Regions from separate parts of the Homo sapiens genome. Here all the other regions are linked to region 7. Evidence: promoter capture Hi-C in 16 types of primary human blood cells and fetal thymus (Javierre and others, 2016). All regions are on one chromosome and are shown on one strand. Each heading gives the region's core, a stretch centred on a gene start or on the middle of the fragment in contact. The rest is flanking DNA. Distances are from core to core; before and after follow the strand shown.

What was found. The method cuts DNA at HindIII sites, captures the fragments that hold promoters and counts their contacts. A CHiCAGO score of 5 or more calls a contact.
Region 1: a contact is called between a fragment that was not itself captured here and the fragment with the promoter of ZNF22 in region 7, in 1 of 17 cell types (total B cells). The highest score is 5.2, in total B cells.
Region 2: a contact is called between the fragment with the promoter of HNRNPF here and the fragment with the promoter of ZNF22 in region 7, in 5 of 17 cell types (fetal thymus, M0 macrophages, naive CD8 T cells and 2 more). The highest score is 8.0, in fetal thymus.
Region 3: a contact is called between a fragment that was not itself captured here and the fragment with the promoter of ZNF22 in region 7, in 1 of 17 cell types (total B cells). The highest score is 5.2, in total B cells.
Region 4: a contact is called between a fragment that was not itself captured here and the fragment with the promoter of ZNF22 in region 7, in 8 of 17 cell types (naive CD8 T cells, total CD8 T cells, activated CD4 T cells and 5 more). The highest score is 14.4, in naive CD8 T cells.
Region 5: a fragment that was not itself captured here is called in contact with the fragment with the promoter of ZNF22 in region 7 in 1 of 17 cell types (naive B cells); the score reaches 6.8 in naive B cells.
Region 6: a fragment that was not itself captured here is called in contact with the fragment with the promoter of ZNF22 in region 7 in 7 of 17 cell types (naive CD8 T cells, activated CD4 T cells, total CD8 T cells and 4 more); the score reaches 13.0 in naive CD8 T cells.

What each region holds. Positions count from the first base shown.
Region 1 is chr10:46,543,856-46,546,638 of GRCh38, reverse strand. It overlaps GPRIN2 (G protein regulated inducer of neurite outgrowth 2), which reads left to right. Exons shown (of 3, transcript NM_001385282.1): 3 at 1-2,783. Among named protein-coding and RNA genes, the nearest start is that of GPRIN2, 11 kb to the left of the region's middle. The HindIII fragment of the contact is 341 bases long and covers 1,143-1,483 here.
Region 2 is chr10:43,407,744-43,410,797 of GRCh38, reverse strand. HNRNPF (heterogeneous nuclear ribonucleoprotein F) reads left to right here and starts at 1,612. Exons shown (of 4, transcript NM_001098204.2): 1 at 1,612-1,667. RefSeq lists silencers at 1,193-1,422, 1,873-1,992 and enhancers at 1,713-1,772, 2,503-2,842, 2,282-2,885, 2,853-2,902, 3,043-3,054. The HindIII fragment of the contact is 6,154 bases long and covers 1-3,054 here.
Region 3 is chr10:46,563,301-46,566,135 of GRCh38, reverse strand. No RefSeq gene overlaps it. Among named protein-coding and RNA genes, the nearest start is that of GPRIN2, 8.1 kb to the right of the region's middle. The HindIII fragment of the contact is 7,183 bases long and covers 1-2,835 here.
Region 4 is chr10:43,138,392-43,141,373 of GRCh38, reverse strand. It overlaps CSGALNACT2 (chondroitin sulfate N-acetylgalactosaminyltransferase 2), which reads right to left and starts at 2,929. Exons shown (of 8, transcript NM_018590.5): 1 at 2,807-2,929. It overlaps CSGALNACT2-DT (CSGALNACT2 divergent transcript), which reads left to right and starts at 2,981. Exons shown (of 1, transcript NR_186456.1): 1 at 2,981-2,982. RefSeq lists silencers at 2,393-2,462, 2,573-2,982. The HindIII fragment of the contact is 1,792 bases long and covers 465-2,256 here.
Region 5 is chr10:43,587,631-43,590,382 of GRCh38, reverse strand. No RefSeq gene overlaps it. Among named protein-coding and RNA genes, the nearest start is that of ZNF239, 14 kb to the right of the region's middle. The HindIII fragment of the contact is 190 bases long and covers 1,175-1,364 here.
Region 6 is chr10:43,569,995-43,572,906 of GRCh38, reverse strand. All of the region lies in intron 2 of ZNF239 (zinc finger protein 239), which reads left to right. Among named protein-coding and RNA genes, the nearest start is that of ZNF239, 3.2 kb to the left of the region's middle. The HindIII fragment of the contact is 2,814 bases long and covers 1-2,668 here.
Region 7 is chr10:44,999,505-45,002,550 of GRCh38, reverse strand. It overlaps ZNF22 (zinc finger protein 22), which reads right to left and starts at 1,628. Exons shown (of 2, transcript NM_006963.5): 1 at 1,573-1,628. It overlaps LOC124902530, which reads right to left. Exons shown (of 3, transcript XM_047426129.1): 3 at 168-1,771. The coding sequence ends at 1,142. ZNF22-AS1 (ZNF22 antisense RNA 1) reads left to right here and starts at 1,748. Exons shown (of 4, transcript NR_126421.2): 1 at 1,748-2,021; 2 at 2,135-2,265. RefSeq lists an enhancer at 1,012-1,512 and a silencer at 1,239-1,588. The HindIII fragment of the contact is 6,687 bases long and covers 1-3,046 here.

The sequences.
Region 1 (2,783 bases), core at 64-2,563, 1.5 Mb before region 7:
GCCAGCGGTTTAGTTTACAGATCTCCTCCCCTTGGACTCTAGATTTCTGGCCAGACTTTCTGGGTCCCTTTCAGGCCCTGCTCTGGGAGGTGTTGGAGTTCACTGTTGATGTGTTTGTTTGGCTTTGAATTCAAAACAGATACAAATTTGGAGGTGAGAGCTTTGCCAGACCCCAGCAGGGATGGGGCATCGGTCCTGACTGGTCTTGTTTATTTTGTCCTGGTAAATTCTGTTCTTTGGAGCATAAACCCTGGAGTCCTAGAGCCCCTTGCCTCAGCAGGAATCCCCCCTCTGTCTGCTCCAGGGGCTCCCTGCTTCTGCCCACCTGCTCTCCTTCCATGGCATTCAGGACCCCCGACAGCTGAAGCCTCTCTTCATATAGCTTGTCCCCTCTGGGCCTGCCTGTCTTGTGTCCAGGACACAAGACACGCATCCCTTGTCTGGCCCCAGGCTGCCATCACTGTCACAAGAAACTCATAGAGTAGAGCTGGTCTGAGGTCACAGTGCTGGTGGTGGTGGAAAAGCAGGGATGGCCTGTTCCACTGTGATCTTACCTCCTGTGTCACCTGGATTGGGTCTCTGTCCCCTTAGACATGCTAGATCCTAACTTTACAAGGGCTGAAGGGGTCTTCTACACGCAGGTCCCAACACTTTGGGCTGGGGTTGGCCACCGTAGCTTAGTGGGCTAAAGCTGGAGTTTGAATCTGGATATATAGGATCCACACCTATAGCCATGTGATCTTGGGCAAGTTACAAGCCTTGATCATCTTCCTCATCTGTAAGATGGGGATGACAATGGTGCCTCCTTCACATGCTTGGTGTGGAGATTAAATAGAATAACCCAAGTAGTGCCTGGCACTGAGTTAGTGCTCAGCACACAGGCTGGTAGTGTTGGGCACCCCTCTCATAGCCACATTCAGGGGCCACCTCTTACCCTGCCAGCTTGGCTGTGATCACAGCCCACATCCCACTTCCTTAAAAGTCCCTTGTTCAGAGCCTCTTTCCAGGTTCCTCGCCCCACAGCTTTGCACCCTGCCTGGGACTTGGCCCTCTGGCTGGGGCTTCTGAAAATGTAGTTCCCAGAGTGCATTGAGGAGGGCTACCCTAGCCCTCACCACTCATCTTGGGCTGGGTTCCCCAGAAGCTTCTGCTGAGATGAGGATGCTGGAGTTATTAGGGAGGGGAGAGCAAGTTAAGGGAGGGGCAGAAGGCAAGGCAGGGTGTGATTTCAGTCCAAGTCAGACCCTAAAGGGGAGCCCTGGATGCAGTCCCACCTCAGAGTAAGGACTACCCAGGGGTGAAGATGTAGCCTCCAGGCACTTCTGCTCTCTGGCAGGCAGGCTAGGAAGCTCTAGGAGCCCCAGGGTAGGTTTCTGCTGGAGTCGTAGGGCCTATTTTGGGGGAAGTTGTGCACAGAAACCACCAGAGGGAGTCACAGGCATCTGGGGGTGCACCCATTGACATTTGCATCCATGTCATGCCAAGCTTGTAGCCCACAAATGCCCAACCCTTTTCTCCATGCATTGCTCTGTCTCAGTTTTGTTCACGCCAAGCAGCCTTGGTTAGTTAAATGCAGAGCTTGGCATTTGCCCATGTTAAATTCCTTCTCCTTTTTCATTCTGGCCTGGCCTGGTTTTGCCATCTGAAGCTATGACAAGTCCTTTATCAGTTTTCATCCAACTTGTCAGGCAGGGCAGGGCTGGTATGAAGCCCAGGACATATCACTGGGACATCCCATAGGTCTGTGAGATTCCCAGGTCCCTCCAAATCCACACGGTCATCATGGGCAAATTAGTTTAAGTCTGATCTGTTAAGATCCAGATCTCTCACACCAACAGCACACACCCCTTTTTCCCATGGCCATGGAAGGAGGGTAGCATAGCCTGACTCGAGTCCTCGTTCTCAGCAGAACTGGTTCTGTGGTGGCCACTTCCCTTTCTCAACTTTTACCTACTTCTGTTTAATAGGTTGTTCTGCAAGTCTGAGAGCAACAGCAAGCTTAGAAGTGTGGACTCAGCCTGGTACAGTGGCTCATGCCTGTAATCCCAGCACTTTGGGAGGCTGAGGTGGGCTGACTGCTTGAGCTCAGGAGTTCGAAACCAGCTTGGGCAGCATGGAGAAATCCCATCTCTACAAAAAATACAAAAATTAGCTGGGCATGGTGGTGTGCATCTGTAGCCTCAGCTACTCAGGGGGTTGAGGTGGGAAGATGGCTTGAGCCCAGGAGGTGGAGGTTGCAGTGAGCCGAGATAGTGCCACTGTGCTCCAGCCTGGATGACGGAGCCAGACCCTGTTTCAAAAAAAGAAAAAGACAAGAAAGAAGTATGGACTCTACCTTCTTGCCCTTGTGGAGATTGGGAACTGCCTGCCCTTGGCCTCTTTCCTGTCCATCTTGTATTATGAAAGGCTGTTTCTGGCACACCCGGGCTCCTCTGTGTGGTTTCTGGGAAGTGACTGAGGGTCAGGGGAATGGAGCCCCTCTGCAGCCGGCCGCTGGTACCTTCCCTATTGAACCCTTCTTTAGGTTTGCTCACTCTTTTTGATGGGTGTCTTTCCAAAGCTGGCTGGGGACCTCCCTGATTGAGAGACATGGGGCCAGTTCTGTTGCTGTGGCTACACGGGAATAATAAAGCAGAAGAACACCTGAGGAAAGCTGATGTTTACTAAAAAAAAAAACAAGCGAAACCAAAGTGACGTGGGCCCATAGGATTGGGGATGGGTGGTGGGGTCTGACTGCCTTGTCCCAAGAGTTGGGTGAATGCCGCCTTTGCTCACTTGTGCGG
Region 2 (3,054 bases), core at 363-2,862, 1.6 Mb after region 7:
TTCTGACAGCTCCTGCTTTACTCTTTCCATTCTCTTTCTTGGAACTAGCTTTTTCTTTTAACAAACTCCTTCCTTCATCACAATCATCCCACTCATCATCTGACACTATTTTGAGCACTCCTTTACTTTCTCTGGTGATTTAAAAAATAACGTTCAGCCAGATGCGTGGCTCAATCCAGTAATCCCAACACTCTGGGAGGCGTAGGTGGGCGGATGGCTTGAGTCCAGGAGTTCCCGACCAGCCCGGGCAACACAGCGAAACCTCGCCTCTACAAAAAATACAAAATTTAGCCGAGAGTGGTGGTGCTACTCAGGAGGTTGAGGCAGGAGGATCGCTTGAGCCCAGGAGGTCGAGGCTGCAGTGAGCCGTGATTGTACCACTGCACTCCCGCCTGAATGACAGGGCGATACTCAGTCTGGAAATAATAACAATAGTAACAATGTTCAGCTTAACCTGTGATGAGTGCCTTGACATCATCTCTTCATGAAGAAGATCCACCAAAATAAAATGGTTACAATTATTAGCCCTACAATACATCAAAAAAAAAAAGAAAAGAAAGAAAATCTGTCCCTGGCTTAGCCATTAGCCACCAAATCTGTGTGTTCAGGTGCTCTGTGACTGAAAATCTTGCCCTCGACCTGGGTCTGAGTTACATTCTGAGGTTTGGGGGCTTCTCACACCACGGAATTTATCACCTGAGCAACTTCAACCTGACAAATCCCTCCTAACGCCCTGCTCTGAGACCCCTTTAGGCGGTCTCCGGAGTACTCAGTGTACCTTTTTTTTTTTTTTTTCTTTGAGACGTAGTCTCGCTCTGTCGCTAGGCTGGAGTGCAGTGGCGCGATCTCGGCTCACGCAAGCTCCGCCTCCCGGGTTCAAGCGATTCCCCTGCCTCAGCCACCCGAGTGGCTGGGACTACAAGCGCGCGCCACCACGCCTGGCTAATTTTTTTGTATTTTAGTAGGGGTTTCACTATGTTGGCCAGGATGGTCTCGATTTCCCGACCGCCTGATCCGTCCGCCTCGGCCTCCCAAAGTGGTGGGATTACAGGCGTGAGCCACCGCGCCCGGCCTTCAGTGTACTACTTTCCTTATTTTATTTTTTGAGACAGCGCCTCGCTCTGTCGCCCAGGCTGGACGCAATGGAGCAGTCACGGATCACTGCAGCCTCGACCTCCCGGGCTCAAGCGATTCTCCCGCCTTAGCCTCCCAAATTACTGGGACCACAGGCTTGCGCCACCACGCCCTGCCATCGGCTCTCATTTCCTTTTCCCATCCTAGTCTTCCATCAGGCGTCCTTTCGGCGCACATTTCAGTGTCCTGCGGGGCTCACCAGTGTCCTTCCTCCAGGGCCTCAGGGGCAGTCAGAGGGATCTTTCCCGCCGCTCCACTCCCTCCTCCTCCTCCCCCTCCCCCTATCCCCTCCCCTCCCCTCCCTTCTCCTCTCCAGAAACGTCCTCGCTTGTCCGCCTCCACCGCCTCCCCCGCCAGCCGTGTCGGCTCTGCTCCGCGCCCAGCCGGCCAACCGGCGGCTCAGCTCTGGCGCGTCACAATGCGCCGTCGCGGCCCCGCCCCCGGACGCCGGACGCAGAAACTCCGCCCTGCCGCGGTCCTTGCGTCCTTCCGGCTCCGTCGTGGAAGCAGGACTGCGCCGCGTCTTCCTCAAGGTGGGGTTCGGGGGGCCACCGAATCGCTGTCACGCCGGCAGGTAGCAGGGGGTGGGGACGCGGGCTCCTTGGGCTTCTGTTTCCTGGTGTCCAGGGCAAAGGGCTGAGCCGGGCAGTAGGGCCTAGTCGGGGCCTGGCTCGCCGGGAGCAGGAGGGCTTCCGGCAAAGCCGCGTGCGCTCGACGGGCAGGCGCTGAGGATTGGGGCCGGCAGCGCGCCTGACCCCGCCCCTCGTAGGCTCCGCCCCGTGCTCGCAGGCGGGGGTTTCCATGGTGATGGTCAACAAGCCTCAACTGCCTCTGCTACAACTGCCAAGTTCCCCGCGTCCCACCCTCCTCTAGGTGCTCCAAGGGACCACCGGGGTGCCTGATATGAGAGCGGGAGTGTAGAGACTCGGAGGCCGAGGTGAGGGGCGGCCGAAGTCTCCGAGGTCGAAGGCCGCACACCCGGGACCTAGCGGGGACCGGGTCCCCCTGGGGGTGGGGACGGGGGGTGGGATTTGAGATTAGGGAGACTATCCGAAGTCCAGGGCCCCGTACCCGGACTACCTGGGGACTGGGCCTATTGGGGTGGGGATCGTTGGGCTGGGGCTGGGATTTGGGATCAGGGAAGAGCGATCTGAGTTTAAGCGCCGCAAACCTGGGACCGAGCGAGGACTGCACATAATGAGGGGCCGTGGCGCTGAGATTTGGGTGACGGGATTCGAGGTCGAGGGGCCCGTACGTGGGACCGGCAAGAACTGGACCCACTGGGATCGGGAGACGCAGCGTCGGAGGTCGAGAGCCGCACGCCCAGACAGTGGTCCCACGCGGTGAGCACCGCGGGCTGAGATTTTGGAGTCAGGAAAGCGCGGGGAAGGCACGGACGGCCGGGTGCGTTAGTCCGGCCCCCTGGCGGGGAGCTGGCGACTGCCGGAGGGCTCTGAAAGTGAGAACAGGCCTGGCGCAGTGGGAGGCCCAGCCGGGAGGATCTCTTGAGCCCAGGAGTTCCCGACAAGCCTGGGCAACATAGACTGTCTCTACTGAAAAGTAAAGAAAAAAAAATTAGCCACGTGTGGTGGCGCGCGCCTGTTGTCCCAGCTACTCGGGAGGCTGAGGCGGGAGGGTCGCTTGCTCTGAGGTCGAGGCTGCAGTGACAGTGATTGTGCCACTGCATTCCAGCCGGGCGACGGAAATGAGACCTTGTCTCAAAAGAAGTAATAATAGTAATAATACCTGAGTAAAATGAAAGCCGCGCGCTCACGTGGCTGCAGGCGCCTGAGAGTTGCACAAGACTTCCTTGTGGGGAGTTGGCTCCGCCCTCCTCCCACGCCCGGTTCCCGTAGCCTTAGCTCTCGGCCCCGGGCCCTTTTTCCTCCTCGGCTGCGCCGCGTGTCCTCGGAGCGCGGT
Region 3 (2,835 bases), core at 22-2,521, 1.6 Mb before region 7:
CTGCCTCTTGAAGTCAGAAGAGTATTGCCTAATACAATAATTCTGTGTAGGCATACAAGACACATCAGTGGTGGTACCTGCCATGCCCGCAGCCCTAGAGGAGGAGACAGCCAGCAGGTGGCCCTATTTTAGATCATGTAACAGTTGGACAAGAGCAAGCAAACACCTGACTCAGGCTCTGAATCAGGCTGGTCAGGATTTGTGAGTTTTCCTCTGGCATTAAAGATGACCTATGTCTATCCAATTTCTCTTTTTTAAATTGGAAGTTGAGAAACAGGGCAGGAGCGAGACAGCCAGCTGCAAGGGAAGAAGCATGAAGGATATGTGAAGAGGTGCCACTAGGAGGAGCTGGCGTGGTGGCAACTCAGTTTCAAAGCAGCAGAAATTCAGCATCAGGAGAGGGCGCCAGTTGGTGGAAAGAGCTGGCAGAGCACAGTCAGGAGGAAACCTGTCTAGGAAGCTCCATGAAGAGAGGGAGCAATGGCTATTTCTGAAGTTGTCTCGCCTATTCCTGAGGACTTTTCAATTCTGGTTCAAATCCTCATGCATCCTTATAACAAACCCATTTTTTCCCCCAAACAAGTTGCAGGTGGTCTGAGACCAAAGCAGACATCCCCCTTCCATGTTGCCTCTGTAACCCTCCCACGGTGACCAGCGTATCACTAAGGACACTTTTGGTAGCAAAGGATGGAAATATAATGCAAATTGGTTTTTAAAAAAGGAAATGTATTGTCTTCCTTAATTGAGATGTCAAGGGATGAGACTAGCCTTAGTCCTCACTGAGGTCAAGGCTCCCGGGATGTTCTCGGGAACTTGCTTCTGCACATCCTCACTTTGTCCTTCTCTGGGCGGCTCCAGTATCCGGCTTCATGTAAGATGGTGGCTTCATCGCCACATTCCCTTGGGGAATAGAATGAGTTTCTTTCTCCAGATTCCCAGATAAAGTATTTATCATTGGATCTAAGTGGGGTACACACTTATCCTGAACAATCTCTGGCCAGGAAACTGATACAGTGATTGGCTGAGGCCTAGCATACACCCCTCCTCTAAGACCCACATGAGCGTAGAGGAGGTAGAGTGTGAGTAATATCTTTGTGGAATATATGTTGAACTGCTGGAAGAGAGACTTCAAATAAGATTGGCTTAAGCAAGATAGAAGTTTCTTTCTCCCTCACCTGCCTGCAGGTAAGCAGCCTGGGAGCCCAGGTTTTTTTTTCCCCATCTTGTTGCTTCTCTATCCCTAGGTATTGTGATGTGAGATGTTTCACCATCACCTCCACTGCCTAGCCAGTGGAAACGGAAAAGGCGGAAGAGGAGGGCTCGCCCCTCTGGTTAAAAGTGTCACCTCTCCCTACTTCAATGCTGCTGGTCAGTTACTTGGCCAAATATAGCTTCTAGGAAGTGAGGAAATACAGTATTTTTTTTCTGGATTTCCGTATCTCCAGATAAAAAACAAGAATTCTTTAAACATAGGAGATGAGTGTGATCGGGGGCAATTAGCAATCTCAGCCCCAGCCTGTCCCATTGGCCAGTCAAATTTCCATGTGTCCCCTCCCCAGGGGAGACAACCCTAAAGTTGCATCCAGTGCCTATGTCCAGCTCCAAGCCTGGGACCTGTGGAGGGACAGCCTGCACCATCAGATCTGATGTGGTTTTTGTTTTATTTTTGTTTTTTTAGACAAGTTCTCACTATGTTGCCCAGGCTGGTCTCGAACTCCCGGGCTCAAGCAATCCTCCCATCTTGGCCTCCCGAAGTGCTGGGTTTACAGGTGTGAGCCACCACACCAGGCTTCTGGATGCAGTTCTTTATGGTGTGTTGCCCCGGAACCCTTACATACATTGCCTGCCTCCTTACACCCAATATGCAACAGCCAGTAAAAATAAGATAAACATGGTGGGAAACCTCATCCAGAAGAGGGAAAAACACACCCACCAAATCCTGGTGGGCAGAAATTGTGAAGGCTCCCAGGGAGTGGAGCAGAGTCCTTGGATGACAGCGCCTCTCTCCAGGAGTATTCCCTGGGATAGACATCTTTGGACCTTGGTGGTCCCCTCTTTGTCCACTGCCTTCCATGGCACAACTAAAGGGCATCAAACGGTGTATCCCTCTTAGGGCTATACAGCTTAAACATTTTTTTTTAGAGAGAAGGTCTTGCTGTGTTGCCCAGGCTGGACTCGAGTGCCTGGGGCTCAGGCAATCCTCCCACTTCAGCCTTCAGAGCAGCAGGGACTACAGGCACATGCCACCACACTGGGCCTGGGCTGCATAGCTTTTGCAGCCCACTTTTTGCAGGTGCAGGTTTGGTGGGTAGGGGTCGGTTGATTTAAGGAGTCAAAAATGCAGACTTGTACCAGCCAGACTCATGGTTCTTTGGTAACACATGCCCCTTAAAATCTCAGTTGGCTTTCTGCCTATTTGTGGCTAGTTATCCTCTGGGGCAAGTACAGGTTGGGTATCCCTTATCTGAAATGCTCGGGGCCAGAGTGTTTCATATTTCAGATTTTGGAATATTTGCATTATCCTGGCTGAACATCCCTAATCTGAAAATCCAAAATCTGAAATGCTCCAATGAGCATCATGTGTGCTCAAGAAGTTTTGGATTTTAGAGCATTTTGGATTTCTGGGTTTTTGGTTTAGTGATGCTCAACCTCCTTTAGATTAGCAGTATTTAAGCCTAAAAATGGTGGCCTTTTATTTATCAGCCTGTATGTTATATCTATTCACCTCCCTCTCAACCTGAGACCAGCGAAAACACTCAACTTGGACTGGAAGGCAGCTTCCTTGATCTGGTCTTTGTGGCCGAGCGGCTGTCATTGTCAGGTTGAGAAACGTAA
Region 4 (2,982 bases), core at 111-2,610, 1.9 Mb after region 7:
TGGTGGCGGGCGCCTGTAGTCCCAGCTACTCGGGAGGCTGAGGCAGGAGAATGGCGTGAACCTGGGAGGTGGAGCTCGCAGTAAGCCGAGATGGCGCCACTGCACTCCAGCCTGGGCAACAGAGCCAGACTCCGTCTCAAAAAAAAAAAAAATTATTTGTAGAGACAGGGTCTCATTATGTTGCCTAGGCTGCTCTCAAACTCCTGGAATCCAGAGATCCTCCTGCCTCGGCCTTCCAAAGTGTTGGAATTACAGGCATGAGCCACCACACCTGGCCCTTTCCTACTTTCCATGTTTAAATATTCAAGAATCAATTGCTTTTTTTCATGGCAGCCTGTATGTGTTCAGTAGGCATAATACCTTAACAAATTTGAAGATACTAATACTTACTTTAAAGCTTTCTTTTGTCTTACATTAGCTCCACTGCTTCAGTGCCTAGTTCTGTATTTGTTTGGTCTGAAGCTTCTCTTAGATGCTACCGATTTCCCACAAATGTTTAGTGATTTTTGTTGTGTGTTCACATTATAAATGTGCTAGTAGTATCTCAGTCCATATGAAAATCACTGTACTCCTGCTGTGAATTCACATTTGTAACTAGCCCTATAATTCAATTTTACACTTATACCTAGTGCTTGTGTAGCATGACAATAACAATGTAAGTTCTTTGACTTGCAGTCCCGTGATTCTTCAATCCACTTTCAGTCATATCCTTTTGGTATTTCATTTCCTCTAAAAAACCACTAACTTGAGTAATACAGTTCTTAAGTAAATGTTATGCTAAACTTCAGAGTCAGATCCTCACCAGCTCTAACAGACTTGTCTAACAGTTAAACAAACAATGACAGTCCGACAGAAGACAGTCATAAATGTGCAATTCAAAGGGTAAATAATAACATGGTAATGAATGAATCACTTACGTCTTGAACTCATAATAGTTATGCTTTTTTAAAACCAACCTTGAATGTTATATTAGTTAAAATAACAAATTCTATTACATTAAAAAAAAGATGACTCCATGTTGGTTAAATTTTCTGCCTTTGGTTGGTAATGGTATGGTTGGTAATGACTCCATGTTGGTAATTTTCTGCTTATGCCATGACTCAGTCATTCTATAGCTGACAGAAATGCATACAGATGCTCACCAAGACATTTAATTTACAAGAATGTCCACAGTACTCTTTTTTTTTTCTTTTCTTTTTGAGACCGAGTCAGGCTCTGTCGTCCAGGCTGGAGTGCAGTGGCACGATCTCGGCTCACTGCAACCTCCACCTCCCGCCTCAGCCTCCCAAGTAGCTGGGCTTACAGGCGCCCGCCACCACGCCTGGCTAATTTTTGTATTTTTAGTAGAGATGCGGTTTCACCATGTTTGCCAGGCTGGTCTCGAACTCCTGACCAAGTGATCCACCTGCCTCGGCCTCCCCAAGCGCTGGGATAAAAGGCCTGAGCCACCACGCCAGGCCCACAGTATTCTTAATATCCAAAACACATCATATACAAAAATTGGGAACATAAATGTCCATCAACTGAAGAGTAGTCACATATTATTCAATAGACTATTACACAGTAATAATACAATACCATGAAATAGCATGGGTGTGTCCCACAAACAATATGCTGAGAATACTACGTGATTCCATTAACATGAAGCTCAAAACAGAGAAAACTAAAAGCAGATAAGAGAAGTTAGAATACAGATGGGAAAACAAGGATATAACTGACTTGGAAGAAGCACAGGAAAATAGGATGATGGAAATGTTCTATGGTTATAATTTGATATATCTGGTGGTTCCACAGGGTAATAAGTATGTAAAAATTCATTGAGCTGTACAATTAAGATTCGTGCTCTTATTGATTTCATATGTATTTTATGCCTCGACAAAAACAAAGAGAAAAATGCAGCTTCTAAACTGGTTGGAACTGTGTTTATTTAGGCCAAAATCCTCTGAGCCACAAATACTGGAAATCCATCTTTTTTCATTCTTTTAGTTACATGACAACTTTAAACAAATGGTACAAGAACAATAATACAAAATGAACGCTAACACTCAGTCCTAAAATACTTGGCTTCTTACTTCCAAGATCGAAGCTACTATTTTAATACAACATTCAAAAAACAACATTAATTACCAGACATGAAGGCCCTGCTCCCGCGAGCCTTGAATGACGGTGAAACGTCACGACATCCCATATCTATCTCAAAAGCACGCTAGAAAATACCTCCAAGTTTAACAAGCCAAGGACTCAGGAAGAGAAGCTTCAGATGTATAATCAAACTATCATACCGCCAATACCATCATCACAAACAGAAGTATCACTGTCGTGCTTCCTGCGTTGCTCAAGGGTAGAGTCATTTTTAAGGTGCATTCTCCGACAACGCCAGAGGCTCCCCATCTCCTCCGCCCCACTGAGCCCTCCACGACAGAGCATCTTTACCGGCGCTCGCTCTGCCATCTACAGATAAAGAGGGGCTGAGGGCAGAACTATTTTAACGCGATGACGAGGTCACCACTGATTAAAAAGTTTATCCACTGAGAGGAGCAGAGATGGTGATGAATAGGTAAAAACAAAACGAAACAAAACAAAACCCAACACTGACAAGCGAACCAATCGTCTCTGGCCGCGCTTTCCCTAAAACCGGTGCCGACTCCGGCAGGCTCATCCCTGAGAGACAGGGCCCCCCGCAGGACCGGTCCGCTAGGCGACCCCACCCGACCACACAGGAGCCCGCAGCCCCGGCGCCCGCACCGCCCGGGCCGGAGCCGGCGGGAGTCGCGGACCGGCGGGCGAGGCCGGGCCAGGTACTCACCGCGCTCGCCCGCTCTGCGCTCCACCGCCTCCTGCGCCGCGGGGACACCCGGGCGGCGCCTCACGCCTTGGGCCCGCCGCCGCCTCAGCCACCCACCCCCGGGCGCGCCGCCGCGCCTGAGAGGCCACTTCCGGCGCGCGCGAGGAAATGAAGCCGCCGCGCGCCCGCGGCCCCGC
Region 5 (2,752 bases), core at 20-2,519, 1.4 Mb after region 7:
GATCCTCCCAGAATCTCTTCCTCAGCATCTGGATCATGATAAGATTTCAGGTGTCTTGATGGTATCCAAAGTGGCTGCTGGTTCTGTCCTAGAGAAACACAAGCATAACCTCTACCCCAAGTTATTATTTTACCTATTTCCCAACTTTTTGTTATCGGATCTCTCCACCAAACCAGTTGTCCTGCTTCTGCCTTTGCAGTTGGTTTCTGTAGATGCTGTTCAGCTGCCGATAGCATCTGGCCTTTAGGCAGGCTCAAAAAATTTAAAGTCAATAATGCTAGATTCAACTGCATATGGGGTGTCCTGTAGTCCCTGTTTCTCCTCTTTGGCTTTTTCAACTGCTGTTTCAGGGAGAGATTCATTATTTCTACTATGGCTTGTCCTTGAGAATTATATGGGATGCCAGTAATGTGCTTAATATTCCACATAGAGAAAAATGTAGCTAGAGCTTGGCTAGTATAGCCTGAGGCATTATCTGTTTTAATAGAAGCTGGAATGCCCATCACTGCAAAACACTACAAAGGTGACATTTAACACAGGCAGAAGACTCTCCTGATTGGCATATAGCCCAAAGTGAGAAAAGGTGTCCACACATACATGTACATAAGCTAGTCTCCCAAATGAGGGAACATGTGTGATGTCCATTTGCTAAAAAGAATTAGGTTCCAATCCTCGAGGAGTAACTCCTCCTATAAAAGATGACGAATGCACCATTTGGCAAGTTGGGCATCGCTGGATAATAGCTTTATCTTCTTTCCAGGTAATGCTGTATCTGTGTTTGAGACCAACGGCATTAACATGGGTTAAATTGTGAAAGTGCCTGGCATTAGATATTGCGGTAGCAACTAGGTGATCAGCCATTTGATTCCCTGCAGTCAAAGGTCCTGGAAGAGGTGTATGAGCCCTAATGTGAGTGATGTAAAAAGGGTGCATTCTACTCCTAACTGCTATTTGTAATTGGGTAAATAAAGTCATCAGTTGCTCATCTGTATGAAATAGCAACTGAGCATTTTCAATTAACTGTGTGGAATGAACCATGTATGAAGAATCAGAAATCACATTAATAGGCATATTAAAAGTAGTCAATACCTCAATTACAGCTACAAGCTCTGCTTTTTGAGCTAAAGTATAGGGCATCTGGAAAACTTTACCTTTCAAGCCAGAATAAGAAGCTTTACCATTACTAGACCCTTCCGTAAAAACATTCTCAGCACCGTCAATTGGTTTAAATTTAGTTATTTTAGGCAGAATCCAATTAGTTAATTTCAAAAATTGAAACAGTTTCATTTTAGGAAAATGATTATTGAGAATACCCACAAAGTCAGCTAAATGGATTTGCCAAGTAAGACTATTTTATAAAAGCTTGCTGTATTTGTGTCTTCGTGAGTGGGACAATAATTTTTCCAGGATCATATCCATGTAATTTAACAATCCAAGTTCTCCCATTTCCTATCATAGTAGCGATTTGATCCAAATAAGGAGTTAGAGTCTGTGAATTAGTATGTGGAAGAAAAAGCTATTCTACTAAGTCCTGCTCCTGGACAATAATACGGGTAGGTGAATGCTGAGTTGGAAAAATTAGCAAATCTAGAGTCTTCTCTGGGTCTATTCTATTTATTTGGGCTTTATGGACGTGCTTTTCAATTCGCTGTAACTCTGCCTCAGCCTCCTTTGTTAATTGTCAAGGGCTAGTGAGACTAGAATCTCCTCTAAGGATAGAAAATAGATTACTCATGGCACACGTAGGAATGCCTAGAGCACGTCGCATGCAATTACTGTCCCCTAGTAATTTTTGAAAGTCATTTAATGTTATCAGTTGATCCCTATGTATGGTTACTTTCTGTGGCACAATGGTAGTGTCATTTACTAAGGTACCCAAGTAGGAGTAGGGAGTAGTAGTCTGAATTTTGTCCTGAGCTATAATTAAACCAGTGCAAGAAACCCAGTTTTGCAGGTGATCATAACCTTGGAATAATATTTCTTGAGTGGGGGCAGCACAAAGTATATTGTCCATATAATGAATAACGTAACACTGTGAAAATGTTTTACCAGTAGATTCAATTGCTTGCCCCACATAAGTCTGGCAAATTGTTGGACTGTTTAACATGCCTTGTGGCAACACTTTCCAGTGAAAATGCTTAGCAGGCTGCAGGTTGTTCACCGCAGGATTTGCAAATGCAAACCGTTCACAGTCTTGCTCAGCTAAGGGGATAGCAAAGAAACAGTCTTTTAAGTCTATGACTGTTAAAGGCCAATTTTTCGGAATCATAGCAGGAGAAGGCAGTCCTGGCTGTAATGTCCCCATAGGTTGTATAACTGAATTAATGGCTCTTAAGACAGTTAACATTCTCCATTTACCTGATTTTTTCTTAATTATGAAAACTGGAGAATTCCAAGGGAAAATGTTGGAGCTACATGTCCTTTTTCTAATTGTTCAGTAACTAAGTCCTCTAAAGCCTCCAGTTTATCTTTACTCGGGGGCCATTATTCTATCCAAATTGGCTTATCTGTTAACCATTTTAAAGGTATAGGTTCTGGAGGCTTAACAATGGCCACCATCAAAAATGATATCCTAAACCTTGGCAGGAACTTTGTCTTTCTGTGTGAAGCGGTTCCTTCAAAACTTGCAAATTTTTTTCTAGTCCCATACCAAGGACATACCCCATTTCATGCATCATATGTTGACTTTGAGGGCCATATAATTGCTCTGGAATTAGAACTTGTGCTCCCCATTGTTGTAATAAATCTCTTC
Region 6 (2,912 bases), core at 12-2,511, 1.4 Mb after region 7:
ATACTCAGGTTGATTTGTTCTCTTTCACTAGCATGTCTACATATTTAACTGTTCCAGTAAATTTTAAATTACCAAGTCGTACTTTTTTAAAGAGAGTTTTCAGTTGTCCCCATAAAACCATCTGTAGGAGGTTACCTCAAAATTAACCCTTAGACTCCCAGGGTATTTGAGATGGTCAGCCCCCACTTAGAATCCCATGGTGTTTGAGATGGTCGGCCCCCTCTTTGCCCTGTCCTGGCGTTTTATGGTGGAGAGCTCTAACTCGGCTAACTCTGAGAGAGCCGAAGGAAAGTGCCTTGTCCTTTGTTTCAGAGAGCAGAAGGCCAGAAATAAACCCCGTGTTTTCTTCCTTCAGGCTGTTCTTTCTCCATTAACTAAACAGGTCATCACATCAGAAGTTGTTTGAATAAAATATCAGACTGCGTTTTAAGGGAAAAAAAATGTTTTTTAACACTACCAGCAAAGGCCATCTTTTTGCTTGGCAAATACAGCCCTCACACACATGAGCTCTTAGAAAAAATCTGTTTAGAGGACAGTAAGCTGACTTGAGGTACTGAGAGCATGGCTTCTCTGTGCCCTGAAAAGTAATTGAGGACTTCAAGGGAGATTAACCTTAGTAGAATCAATACATTTTCCTTCCTTCGCTTCTGCCTGCTCCCTAATGATTAAGTATTCACTGCCGCTGCAACTGGGGATTGCCAGTTTAGTAAATTTTGAGATTCTGGTGTGTGTTACACAACAACTTTTTTAATTTAAAGGAAGGACTTCATTCCAAGCATTGTGTGTTTTCTATGTACCACACATTGTCCTTAGGTCTGCTGAAAGGCGGGAGTCTTAGTTAACCCTGCTTTTCCTCTGTGACATTGGGTAAGTCACTTCGCCCTTATGAACTGTGGTTTTTTTCTCTGTAAACTGAGGGTCTTGGGCTTGACCATCTTTATGTTTTCTTTTAGTTGTATTATTATTCATTTAAATTGAATGTGAATTTATATTTATCTTTCAGATTCCAAGTCAATTGTGGTAGTTGCTGGGGATTTAAAGATGAGTTGAGGCCAGACATGGTGGCTCACACCTGTAATCCCAGTACTTTGGGAGACTGAGTGGGGAGGATCACCTGAGGTCAGGAGTTGAGACCAGCCTGGCCAACATAGTGAAACCTCATCTCTACTAAAAATACAAAAATTAGCTGGTCATGTTGATGCCTGTTGTAATCCCAGCTACTCGGGAGGCTGAGGCAGGAGAATCTCTTGAACCCGGGAGGTGGAGGTTGTAGTGAGCTGAGATCATGCCACTGCACTCCAGCCTGGGCAACAGAGTGAGACTCTGTTTCAAACAACAAAGATGAGTTGAGTGTAGCCCCTATCCTTCAGAATCTTCCAGCCAACTTGGGAGAGACTTAATAGCTATAGTAGAGGGATGTGAAAGATGCTATGAGATCTCAGAGGAGGAGAATTCTAACTCATCCTCATGCTTCAGAAAGAGGCTATTGTCCTGAGACTGAAAGCTCCAAAATGGATGGGAGAACTCAATAAGTTAGGGCTTACTATAGAAAGGACTGTGCTAGACTCAAGTGTAATGTGTTGAATGACTCCAGGTAATCTAGTGTGCCTCTTCCTGCTTTTCCACTTCAAAGTAAATTGTTAGATACAGCAGAGATGGGCTCTAGAAAGAAGTGGAAGGCCACATGATGGCATGTATGTAGTTCTGAGGAGGTCGACATTTGTCTGATAGAAACAGGAAACAATTGAACTTGTGACCTTCCTCTTTGGTTGGCCTTTAGAATATCAAGTCTGCTCTCCCAACTGTAAGCAGGAGCACAGCCTTGGAGTGACTCCTTAGTGCCACTGATACCTGGGAAGACTGTTGATTATTCAGTGTTTCAGTCCCACCTTTGTCTTGCTTTAACAGGAGCACTAATTTCCTTTCCTTTTCTCCTTTCCCTTGTCACAATGATTCTTTTCATTTGGTCTACTCCTGTCATTTTTTTTACCTACCACAAAGTTAGTAGTCCACCAACATATCCTTTCCCTTCTCAGAATGGAGTCCCGCCTGCCATTTTATCTTGAGGACCTTAAAAAATTAATAACTCTGGTTGTCTAACCTAGGGACTGGAAGATGACAAAAATTGTACTACAAAGAATTGGTAAGGAGTTATTGTAGCCTAGGTAAGAAAAAAAATAAGGGTCTTACTAAGACTGGCAGTGGAAATGGAAAAGAGGTAACACATTGGAGGGAAATTTAGGAGGCAGAATTGACAGGATCTGAAATGGTTTGAATATTGTTGAGGTAGAGAAGGAGGATTAGACAATCCAGACAACTGAATGGAAGACGGATAAAAAAATAAGGGAGAGAAAAGATAATTGGTGGGCTTGCATCTCTGAAGATAGAAGAAGGGATTTGATCTAGAATGCACAGGAAGAGATTAGCCTTAAACAGAAAGAAATTTTTTTTTCTCTGTGGTCTGAAGAGAAGGTCTGGTTGGGAAGAGCAGCCAGTCCACTTGCTTTTAATATGCCATGGGTCATGCCTTGCTAAAGGATGTGGTGATGGAGCTTGAAGGCAGCAACCTTTGCTTCTGTTTGTTTGTCCCACCTTTACTCCGGGGCTTGAGCCTCCTTTTCCAGCCCTCTTCCTCAGAATGGAGACCAGTGACCTTGAACAGAAAGCTTGGGAGACAGCACCCATCCTTACCTTCATCTTTACCCTCATCCTTCCCCACTGGTGACAAGTTGGGTAAGTCATGTCACTCCTGCAGGGCAGGCCCAAGGAAGGAGGGAGTGGTGCCTCTTTAGCCTCAGGCCAAAGCTGGCTTAGCTGATCAAATTTATGAGACAGCCTTTATGACTTTTTATATATTCTATCACTTTACTTTTGAAATTGTGCCTTAGAGAGTGGTGCCAGCCCATGCACTG
Region 7 (3,046 bases), core at 379-2,878:
ACTGTTTTCGGAGACAGAAAAACTGCAAAAGAACTTTTACCAGAAAGTGGAATGAAACTGAGTAGAAAACGCATGGTAGGTAGGACACAAGAAAAGGAGAGGGGGGAGAAAATGAGTTTACATGTAAAACTAGGATGGAATTTTTAGAATACCCAAATGCTGCAAAATTCAAAATTTCAAATGATTTTATTTATTTATAAGGCTGACTTGTGGCTATTTAAAATAACGGCCAAAACAAACCAACAAAAACCCCTACAAACCCCACATAGGTGGCAATGTCGGAAAATCTAGAACTTCAAAAGCAATAAAATTATTGGAACTATTTTTCATTATCTTGTGTCAGAATGTGGAATTTAAAATAGAAACAATTATTCTGGGTTTCTTTGCATACAAACATATAAAGCAAATAAATGAAAACAAAAACATAATTTTTCTTGCCTTCCTTTCATCTTATTGTATAATTGAGACTTTAGGTCCAGGACTTTATCTGGATATTTAATAATTACATCAGCTGTAATTATGGTCAGCGTAAGAGTAAGCCGCATATAACACAAGATTACAGTTAGGACTACCCACTCCTTAACTTAAGCAAATATTTACAGAACATCTACCACACAGGAGACATTGTGTTAGGTACATGGTGTTGGTGTTGCTTTTTTTTTTTTTTAATAACTATAATGGTCATTATACATAAAAGCACACGCATTTAATACAATGGAAGTCAGATCTAGTCAGAAACTCAGACTGTCAAATCCACCTACGGATGAGGCAATCATACTAGTATGTGCCAGACACTGTGTAACTTGATTCTGTGCTAGCTCTTTAATTCTCCTGGCACCTTTATGCAGTTATTTCCGTTTTAAGTTAAGGAAACGAGGGCACAATGCTAGAAGGCACTGGCCGGGTTCCCAGACCCTAGCAGTTTGACTCCAGAGCCTGTACTCTTAGTGGCAGCCACATCTTCCATTGCTCAGTCCAGCGCGGCGACCCGTGCTTTGCATAGCTCCCCAGCAGGGGCAAGCACGAAGTTAAACCTGAGTGACAGAAGCTGCTGTTCTTGCACACCCAGCTAACTGGAATGTGCCTCAGTTTCCTCGTAAAATGGGGAGGGTAATGATAAAGTGGCAACACCATCAAGATGTTAGAAGTTGCAATGAGTCTGAATCTGAAAACCGCTCAGAGCAGCCCTGTGCTGCCTAAGCATTTGTTCCACGTATCTAGTCCTCGAACGCTCCGAGCGACGGAAGGGGCCGGGGCTGCTGCTCACCCGCCCAGTTCCACCCGCCGCGGGCCGCGCCTCGCCCGGGCCCCCAGTCCAAGCCTCCCGTTCCCAGCACTCCGCCGGCCGCTCCTCATTGACCCGGCCCGCCCGCCGCGCAGGCCGCGGCCCCACCCTGGGCCCGCGTGGCCCTCCCGCCCCCGCCCGGCGGCCAGGCCCTGCCCGGAGGCGGGAGACGCAAGCCACGCCATCGCCCGGGCCCGCGCCGCCCTCGTTGCGGCCAGCGCGCTCCCGAGCGGACCCGAGTATCCGACGCAGGCCCCGAGCGCCCCAAGTGCCCCAATCCCACTCACCGCGCGGGACCAGCCACCACTCTGGCTCGCTGGGCGCCTCCCGCGCCGCCGGAAGTGAGGGCCTCGCCGCGCTCTGGCGCCGCCGCGGTCGCTCTAGGAAAGTGGCGGAGCGACCCTCTATGGTCCCGGGCCCACCCGAAAGCGTTGTTCGTTTCTTCCTGTGGTTTTGTTTTCTCCTCCCCCCAACTCGGAAGGCGTCCTGTGACCCCCGGGACCTCAAGAGCTGTAACCGCCCCTGTGTGTGGTCGAGGCTTTTGAAACCAAACTCTAGCCTCTCCAACCTAGAAACTGCATACTTTCCACAAATTTTGAGATTTTTGAGACCCTGGTACTTTTCACGAAGTCACCTTAATTATCACCAAAAAGCTCCTGCAAGATGGGAGTGGTTATACTCCATTTACAGGAAAGGAACCAAGGCTCAGAGAAGAAATGTGCTCCGTTCACCGTGTGTAAGCGGACGACCCAGAATTGGAATGGTTCTTTGTGGCTCCAAAGTCTGATTTCAACACACCCCTTTTGTTGCTCATTAGTAATGATCTCTCTTTGTTCTTATTCCTTCCAGGCTCCTCCTCAGCCATCCTGGCCGTGCTCAGTCATCTGACCAGCTGACCTCCGTGTTCCCCCACTCCCTGGGGAGCTCCTCCGCCTTTTGGCTTCCAATGCTATTGCTGCATGCTGAAGACTCCCGCATTGGTAACTCCAGTCTGACTGTGGGACATAAATGTTATTGAACTTTAGACTTGTATATCGAACTGATTACTCAAGAGCTGCATTTGCATGTGTAATGGACATCCCAAACCTAACATACCCCCCAAATGAATTCCTGATATCTACCTAACCTGTTCTTGCAACAGTCTTCTTCCCAGGGATGGGTGAAGATCCCATCATCTTTCCAGTTGCTCAAGCCAAAAACCTTGATGTCACTGTTGTCTCTTCTTTTTTTCATCCAAAATTCACCTGTGATTTATCCACAAATTCTGTCGGCTTCATCGTTAAAATATATTCATTATCAAGCCACTTTCAACACTTCCACTGCTATAACCACCAAGCCACCTTCATCCACCTTCTGGATTATTATATTGGCTTCCAGACGGGTTGCCCTACAGTCTATTCACGGCCCCAGAGTAATCCTCTTAAACCTAAGTTAGATCATGTCATTCATTTGTTCAAAACCTTCAAAGGCTTCCCAACTTATTAGAGCAAAGCCAAGGACCTCGCAGTGGCACCCGATGCCTCTCATGATCTGTCTCTTTAGTTCTTTATTGTGTCTGCAGTGCTGAAAACAGTGCTCAGCAGGGAACAGACACTCAGTAAATAGCTGTTGAATGAATGAATTTATAAGATGCCTTATTGTTTACAAAGTACTTTTACATCTTATCTTCTGGTTATTCATCTTCACCATAGTCTCATGAAGCACAGATTATCATATCTGTCTTGCAAATCAGTAAACTGAAGCAAGAGAGGCTGACCTGCC